2 separate regions of the Homo sapiens genome follow, and region 2 is linked to region 1. The links are contacts of gene promoters, found by promoter capture Hi-C in human tissues and cell types (Jung and others, 2019). All regions are on one chromosome and are shown on one strand. The core of a region is centred on a gene start or on the middle of the fragment in contact, and the rest is flanking DNA. Distances in the headings are between cores, read along the strand shown. Region 1 holds the start of MBNL2 (muscleblind like splicing regulator 2). Region 2 overlaps FARP1 (FERM, ARH/RhoGEF and pleckstrin domain protein 1).

Region 1 (4,434 bases), core at 1,935-4,434:
ATGGTAAAGGCCCCCAAAACTATGTTTTCAACAACCAACATGTCTTGTAGTTATCCACCTTTTCCCGAATCAGAATCCTTCACCCCTTGCAATGTTGCCAACCTATTTCTATGTTGATAATCTGTTTTGTCATTTTGGAAATGTAAACAAATCAGTATACCTTCCTTTTCATCTTTTTCTTGTTATCGGTAGGAAAGTACAGGAAAAAAGGAAGAGAAAATGCATGAGAGATTGAACCTACTTATTCTACTATAAGGAATTCTCTTAAGCTCAGCATCTAAATCCTCTTTTCCCAATTCTTGCTTGGAATCTTGAGTACCTGATCTTGAATTTCTATGGCACTCCCTGAGCGCGGGACTGGCTGGTAGCCATGTGATATTGATTTGTTTTCACCATAGCAACAGCAAATTGAAACAACTAGCAGAGAGAAGGCAGGCTGTTAACCAGTAAAGCTACCTAACCAGTATATTTCACAAGCATATTTTTCTCCTTCCCTCTTGTTTTTTCTCTTATTTACTCCACTTTCACAAATTTAACACAAAAGTCAAAGGAAAAACAGCATTAAATGTTTTGGGCACTACAAGGCCTGTGGCCAGAATAGTGTGCTTTGCAGAGCTTCTAGTATATTAGATTAGATCGATGGAAAAAATGCAAACAACAACGCTTTGATTTCCTTGGAAATTTCATTTGTTGAACTAAGAAAAAGTATCCCTAAAAAATTTACATGAGCACAAAGTAGAGTGAAGGGTTTTGTGTATATGACTATGTATCTTAATACTCTAAGGTGTTTGCCAACAGTTTCTTAATACCGAGGTTTTATCCCTTTGTACTTTAAATAGCTCAATGTGCCAAGAGACAAACAACTTTTTTTTTTTTTTTTTTTTTTTTGGTAAAAGGTCAAGGTCTCAAAATGCTAAATGATGAGGGAAAGTGTAGCAAGTATGATTCAATTCTATTAAAAGACAGAAAAATCAAGGTAGGCACTTGCTCAAAACTACGTGAGTAGTCAGAGAGGAGACACAAATTAGCTTTGGGAACTCCCGAGAACTCCAATGTGCTCCAGTCAAAATCTTTTTTAAAAGGTTCCTTTGTAAACATTACCCTTCCCCCGATCTCTGTGACCAAGGTTGCCACCTGTGACATGGATTTGCAGCCTGCAGTATTGTACTTCCCCTGCTTGGGGCCATCTGTGCTAGGACATGATGATTTTTCTATGAAAGCAGCTGTTCTCACCATCACAACCAGCCTTGAACTTGGTGGCACAACCTGGATCCTAAATAGTGGCTCTGGAGCAACTGGGAATAGGGCCCCGGGGACCATCCACCCAGGTGGCAGCGCTGGGCTGCACCAAGGGGGAGTCAGGCCAGAAAAAAAGCTTTGCCCTGCTCCCTGCTGCTTTTTGCCAGCCCAGCCAGAAGCCCTGCAGAAAACCTGTGCTGACCGGCCCGACATGTGGCAGGTACAAGAAGATGCCCTATTTATGAGGGGACAGGTTTACAATTTACAAAAGACAGGCGAAAATATAAAGACATAACTTAAGTCCTGCCAGTGGGGAGTTAGAATGTTCCTGGCCAGGACATAAAGAAATATTCCTCTCCACAAGCTCGAATAAAGGAACACACAGCAGAAATAGTTGGGGGATGACGTCAGAAGTTCTGGGCTAGTGTCCTGCACTTCTCCTTGAAAGTAAAAACAGTGGGTCTAGAAGAATCTACGTGGCATTGCCCTTATTTAAATGAGTAGTTCTACTGCTCCTTGCAAAACAAGTAGGATAGCTGAAGAAACTTCCTCTTATTTAAAGATTATAAGAATGTTCCCCCTGCCTTTTTTAAAAACCTTATTGTCCCCAAAACACACACATTACCCAATTAACAAATAGCTTTCCACTTAACCTTTGTCTTTTAAAGGGACAGTAATGTTTCTTGTAGAACATTCAAGGTGGTGGTGGTTAGGCAAGTCAGATTTTTTTCTTCGCTTCAGTGCTTGCTAACTATTCTAAAAATGTTACACATTTATTGTAAACACATGCTTCCGAGGCCTAACAAAAAAGCACAGTTTCCTCATGCCTGGCAGAAATTTAAAACGGAAAAGGGCAGAAAGAATTCTTTAGCAAATATATCCTTTCCTTCTCCTGGGCCAAGTGTGTTAAAAATAAATCTTCTCCATCATTTCTCACTGCTGCTTCTCAGCGAGAAAGTTGATATGGTTCGGCATAGTGAAAACACAGCTTTAAAAGCTAGCCTGCCCTCATTAAATTATTCTGCTGGCTGTGTGTTCTCATTAAAAATGCATAAAGATCAGATAATTGCAGTAAGCATTATTAACCCAGCTTTACTTTTGAATATAATGGTTCCACTTTTAAGCTGGAAACAAAGGCTCAGACATGCCAGGAAAAGAAATGTAAACATTGAACTACAGTATCGAAAACTTGCCAGAAAGCTACCTCTTGCTAGGTTGTTTAAAATGTGCTTTTGAAACTCAATTAAAGCTGTAGCATTGTAGAGCTAGGTAGGTCCCTAATTTTTAATAAATAGACACATACGTTTGGCCAAACATTCAACCGATGATTATTTACCATGAATTTTTTTTTAATCCTTAATTGCAAGTCTGTTTTCAAATAATAGGATCCATGTAAACTTTATCTATTTGGGAACTAGCTATGGCAATATAACAATTTTTCACAGCAAGAAAATAAGATTGCTCCAAAGAATTCAAATGGTTTTTAAAAAATAATATAATAAATGAATCGATTCTTTGCATAAAAACTCGATTTCTTGCCTCACCCCAAACAGGCGGCATAGATTCAAGCTTTGCCATTTCTTTTTCTCAAATCAAAATGTTACGTAAAACTCCAGGGTCCCCCGCAAGTATTACAATTGAATTAGTGGAATCCAGTTTCCCTGGCTCCCGTAAGCAGCACACATGGAATGCAGCATACTGCAGCAAACTCTTTAAACATTCAAAAAAGGGGGGCGATTCTCCTACCTTGTTTAGCTCTGCCTGTCCTTCCCATTTACAGTAACCCCAGGAACATCTGGCAGAACCAAGTGGCCGAGGCTTCTCCACCGCATCATGAGAAAGAAACTTCCATGTAAATAGTTCTCATTCCCTGTTTATTGTACTCTGAAAGCCGTCTGCCGTATCTGGAAAATTTTACCTTCAGATGATGAAGCAAAGACAGTCTAAACTCTGTTGCTGTAAGCTGCAGCCCTTCCTTCCGACAAATCCCTCCCAGCCGGGGCCAGCCAATCCCCAGCCAGCTCGTCAGCCCTACTCGTCTGAAACTGGCCCTAATAGGATGACTGACACAGTAACACAGCACTTGCAGTGTGTAAAAACAGTGCATCCATACTGATGAAAGAGGAATTTCCCTCTCAGAAGAAAGCAATCATAGCACCAAGACAAAGTGGCACATAATTGGCAGAGCAGAGAGAGGGGTAGCTCAAGAAAACACCCTTGAAGACAGCCAGCTCGAAGCCAGGAGCTTCACCGTGAACACTTGGGAAAATGTGAAACTCCGCAGATTCCAAAGAAATCCAGGTTGTACATGAAACTGAAGTCCTTGGACTATCTGACAAAGCATATGTATATGTTTTTTAAAGGAAAAATAATTCAACGTCTGCCATGGCAGTTAATACCTTACAAAACATTTACATATTTCCATTATTGAGGAAGAATGTGCTAGCCCAAGTGCGTATTCAAAATCAAAACATGCTTATAGCTCTGGCACACACAGGTTTCCTGTATAACATCTGTTATTGCAGTGGTTAATTACTGCGGCCCATTTATCTTTCGTCTAAGTTTTCAGACCACTTGGGACTTCGATTAGGGAATGCTGGACAATAAAATTGATATCTATACACTACCCTTTTCTACTCTTGGCAGGCACCCACGAGAGGATTAGGTGTGCTTTAACCATCTTAGATGCCATTTGATAAATACTGTGCATTGGCTCACATTATCGTTAATGAAGCAATGATTATAGGAAGATGTTTACTGTTGAATACAAGGGGTACATGATCCAAGGGCCCCCATGAGGTGCCATTCCACAAAAGATGTTCTAGGAGGTGCTGGAGTTTCCTGAGATAAAGCAGAAGAAGAGAAAGTTTAGGAAGGGTTATTTATTTATTTATTTATTTATTTATTTCCCAGTCTACAGCATTTCTGTATGCCTTGAAAACAAAAACTCAAAAACATATGGCATTGAGCAAACACAACAAGCATACATTTTCCTCCCCTAAATACCACATTTTGAGAAAAAAAAAGTATGATGATTACATGATGAGACCAAGACAGAACAAAGCCTTTATTCATCTGAAAGGTTGAACCCAATGCACGATTTTTATAAGCAACTGTTCAGCGCATCTGTAATGAAGCAACAGAATGCAATGGAATGCTTTCTTTTTATTTTGCCATTGCATCTTAAAAACATAA
Region 2 (4,196 bases), core at 1,319-3,818, 1.2 Mb before region 1:
ATCCTCAGCCATCTCTCCTGGACCTGTGATTTGGAGTCTGTTGTAAAATGGTTGAGGGAATTGTGGTCATGAGGGGACCCCGTTCTCACCCTTTGTTGTCTTCTGAAGACAATCTTGTAGAATTTTTGGAAGACACAGAAATTACCCATGATCCCACCACTGTAGCCCAAATCTCATCAGCATCTTTGGGTGCATTGCCTTCTGTTGTCATACCAGGTCATAAACTTACTGAATTCTCTTATCTACCTTATAGTGCAAAGAAGATTTTTTAGAATTTCTATAGTACTTAATTTAGGATACAGAAGTTGTTCATGTAAATATACTTATATAGTGCACATATACAGGCTGAATATCCCAAATCCCCAATCTGAAACTTTTGAGCGCCAGCATGGGGCTCAAAGGAACTGCTCTCTGGGGCATGTCAGATTTCGGATTTGGGGCTGCACACTGGTAAGTATAATGCGGATATTCCCAGATCCAAAGCCAGAAGCATTTCAGATAAGGGATGCCCAATCTGTAATTTTGTATGTACTTTTAAACTTGTACATATTTTTAATATTGCTTTAATATATATATGTAAATACAGATAATTACCATTTTTAGTCTGTTATTTCAGTTTGTATAATTTACTTAACTGATTCTGTACTGTTGGGCATCAGAGTTGTTTCCAAATTAGTGTAATTACGAAAATCCCGAGAGACATCTTTGTGCAGACACGTTGTTCCTGCTTTGGACCATATTTCGGAAGCAGTTCTAGGAAATAGATTCTTGGACTGCATCACTATTTTTATGGCCAAAATGGGTTTCCTGCCCTCACATCGGGAATGCATATGCATCCCTGGAATCTTACTGTGTCATCATGTATGGATCAATGTTCACTTTTTGACAATTGATCGTAAGTAAAAGGGATATGATTTCCCGTTTTATTCACATCTCTCCAGGGAGGCTGAACCCATTCTTGGTTTTTGGTGACATGCTCTGGAGTTTTTGTGTAAGAATCATGATCTTCTCAGTCTTTATATGCATTCTTTTAAAATTAGACTTACACATTGATATTTGCTCCACTTATTTTTGTATGACTTGGAATTTCTTATGAAAACTAAGATTTTGGTTACTATATGAATTTTTGCACAGGGATGAGAAATGACATGTGTTGACTTCTCTCTCTCTCTTTTTCCCTAGATACTCTCTAAGTGGTGGAGGAACTTCATCCCACTGAAATTCCTTTGGCATTTGGGGTTTTGTTTTTCCTTTTTTCCTTCTTCATCCTCCTCCTTTTTTAAAAGTCAACGAGAGCCTTCGCTGACTCCACCGAAGAGGTGCGCCACTGGGAGCCACCCCAGCGCCAGGCGCCCGTCCAGGGACACACACAGTCTTCACTGTGCTGCAGCCAGATGAAGTCTCTCAGATGGGTGGGGAGGGTCAGCTCCTTCCAGCGATCATTTTATTTTATTTTATTACTTTTGTTTTTAATTTTAACCATAGTGCACATATTCCAGGAAAGTGTCTTTAAAAACAAAAACAAACCCTGAAATGTATATTTGGGATTATGATAAGGCAACTAAAGACATGAAACCTCAGGTATCCTGCTTTAAGTTGATAACTCCCTCTGGGAGCTGGAGAATCGCTCTGGTGGATGGGTGTACAGATTTGTATATAATGTCATTTTTACGGAAACCCTTTCGGCGTGCATAAGGAATCACTGTGTACAAACTGGCCAAGTGCTTCTGTAGATAACGTCAGTGGAGTAAATATTCGACAGGCCATAACTTGAGTCTATTGCCTTGCCTTTATTACATGTACATTTTGAATTCTGTGACCAGTGATTTGGGTTTTATTTTGTATTTGCAGGGTTTGTCATTAATAATTAATGCCCCTCTCTTACAGAACACTCCTATTTGTACCTCAACAAATGCAAATTTTCCCCGTTTGCCCTACGCCCCTTTTGGTACACCTAGAGGTTGATTTCCTTTTTCATCGATGGTACTATTTCTTAGTGTTTTAAATTGGAACATATCTTGCCTCATGAAGCTTTAAATTATAATTTTCAGTTTCTCCCCATGAAGCGCTCTCGTCTGACATTTGTTTGGAATCGTGCCACTGCTGGTCTGCGCCAGATGTACCGTCCTTTCCAATACGATTTTCTGTTGCACCTTGTAGTGGATTCTGCATATCATCTTTCCCACCTAAAAATGTCTGAATGCTTACACAAATAAATTTTATAACACGCTTATTTTGCATACTCCTTGAAATGTGACTCTTCAGAGGACAGGGCACCTGCTGTGTATGTGTGGCCGTGCGTGTGTACTCGTGGCTGTGTGTGTGTGATGAGACACTTTGGAAGACTCCAGGGAGAAGTCCCCAGGCCTGGAGCTGCCGAGTGCCCAGGTCAGCGCCCTGGACTGCTTGCGCACTTGCTCACCGAGATGATGCAGTTGGAGGTTGCTGATCTGTGCGATTGCTGTAGCGGTTGCCGGGGACCTTAAGAGTTATTTTGCTTCTCTGGAAGGGGCCTATGCTTGCTAGGCAGGCAGCCAGTGTGTCTGTTTTTCTTGGTTTGCTGTGGGACCTTGCTTGGCGAGGGGGAAAATCTCTGGGTTTCTGGAGTGGGAGGGTTCGTGCAGCAGCTGTTGACTGGTACATGAAGCATTCTTTTATGTTTGTTGAAGCTGATGATTGACATCTCCCGTGGGTGTGCCAGTTCTTGTGGAGTTAAGACAGGATTTTTGGAAGCAAGGAAGTTAGTGGGTGAGCTTGGGGATGTAGCTCAGCTATCTGCTGGTCTAGTGGCCTCTAAGCTATAGGGAGGGGACAGAGCCCTGAGCTACAGATGCTTGAGTGGGTTATTGTGTCGGTTTGCTAGTGCAGTCTGGTTTTTAAGCTCTAAAATTGAGGTATTTTATTAGAAGTGGATTTGGGTTGAACTCTTAATTTGTATAAGGGATATATTTTGGTTGGGGAAATAGAACTGAGTTGCTAATTCTTATTGTACTCATTACTCCATACAAGAATGTTATGTTGAATAATAAAATTGGAGAAGATTTCATTTTGTGTTTCCAGGGAGTATTCTGTGTGGGGAACTGTTTCCTTACGTGAGGCCGGCGGCATAAGTCAAAGATGAGTTTTGTCCTTGCGAATCACACAGATTGAGTCTGTGTTCCCCAGGGTGTGCCGTTACCTGATTTTTAAGTGAGCCAGGGCGGACAGCAGCTTTTCTGATTTACAGAGTTCTTCAGATTTACAAATGGACAATGACATCACAGTTTTTAGCACTGAAGCCAGTCTCATGCTAGTAACAGTGGGTGAGCCGCTCGAGGGACTGGGTTCTAATGAATACTGGTATGAACGGGGAGTCTCTGCAGTCGCCAGACAAATCATACTCAGCCCCTTCCCCCGTAGAGCAACAAGTGGTTCTTTTAGAGTTGACTGGCAGCATTTCCTGTCGGGGGAGGTGGGGTTTGATGGAGTTAGAAAGCTCGCCTCTGTGTACATTCTCTCCTGGGCTGTTACTTTCTGTAGACGCACAAAATCAGCCCCAATGTTTTTAAGGGCATCTTAGCCAAGGAAGCTGGCTTTTGTGTCGCCACTTCCAGGCCTGCATTAAGAGAGAGCCCAGGCACCAGGGCTACCACTGGAACCTGCCTCAGCGTCAACTGCTGCTGGTCTGTAGCCAGGCCCAGCCTTTGAGACGGGTTTACTGTCACCAGTAGCCTCTCAGTGCCAGCCCTGAGCTGCTCCTGGCTCAGCTGCCCAGAGCCTGCAGCCTGGGGAGGTACTCAGCCTCTGGGAGACGAGGGCCGTGGACTGGGTGGCTGGTAGCTCCTGCGTTTTTGAGCTGTGTCCTGGCTGGCTGCTGCCAATGAGGTGGACACCAGTGTGGTTTGGGGTGCACTGGCCACTTCTTGCTGGGTTCTGATTTTCTTGGAAGTGCATCTGCCTTCCTTATCCAATAGTTTTATCCCTGCATTGCTCTTGTGAAGTGGCTGGTTTGGTTCTGTATGTAGCATTTTGTACCTTTCCTCTGGCAAAACACTGTCAGTTTATAAACATTTTTTATATTTCCCTCCTTTAAAAACAGCTTGTGTATTTCTGCTATAAAATGTGTCAGCAAAGGCAGAGTGACCTAATAGGGCATGTTCTTAAGCACAGGGACTGTATCATGCAGGGGCCAATAAAGCTCAAGAAAACGAGTATCT

Evidence for each region. Contacts are between HindIII fragments. The study calls those that stand out against the background at their distance.
Region 2: a fragment that was not itself captured here is called in contact with the fragment with the promoter of MBNL2 in region 1 in 1 of the 25 tissues and cell types used here (spleen).

What each region holds. Positions count from the first base shown.
Region 1 is chr13:97,221,083-97,225,516 of GRCh38, reverse strand. MBNL2 (muscleblind like splicing regulator 2) reads right to left here and starts at 3,184. Exons shown (of 9, transcript NM_001382683.1): 1 at 2,986-3,184. RefSeq lists an enhancer at 3,103-3,162. The HindIII fragment of the contact is 5,720 bases long and covers 2,093-4,434 here.
Region 2 is chr13:98,450,196-98,454,391 of GRCh38, reverse strand. FARP1 (FERM, ARH/RhoGEF and pleckstrin domain protein 1) reads right to left here. Exons shown (of 27, transcript NM_005766.4): 27 at 1-4,196. STK24 (serine/threonine kinase 24) reads left to right here. Exons shown (of 11, transcript NM_001032296.4): 11 at 1,183-4,196. The coding sequence ends at 1,219. Among named protein-coding and RNA genes, the nearest start is that of FARP1-AS1, 16 kb to the right of the region's middle. The HindIII fragment of the contact is 6,145 bases long and covers 1-4,196 here.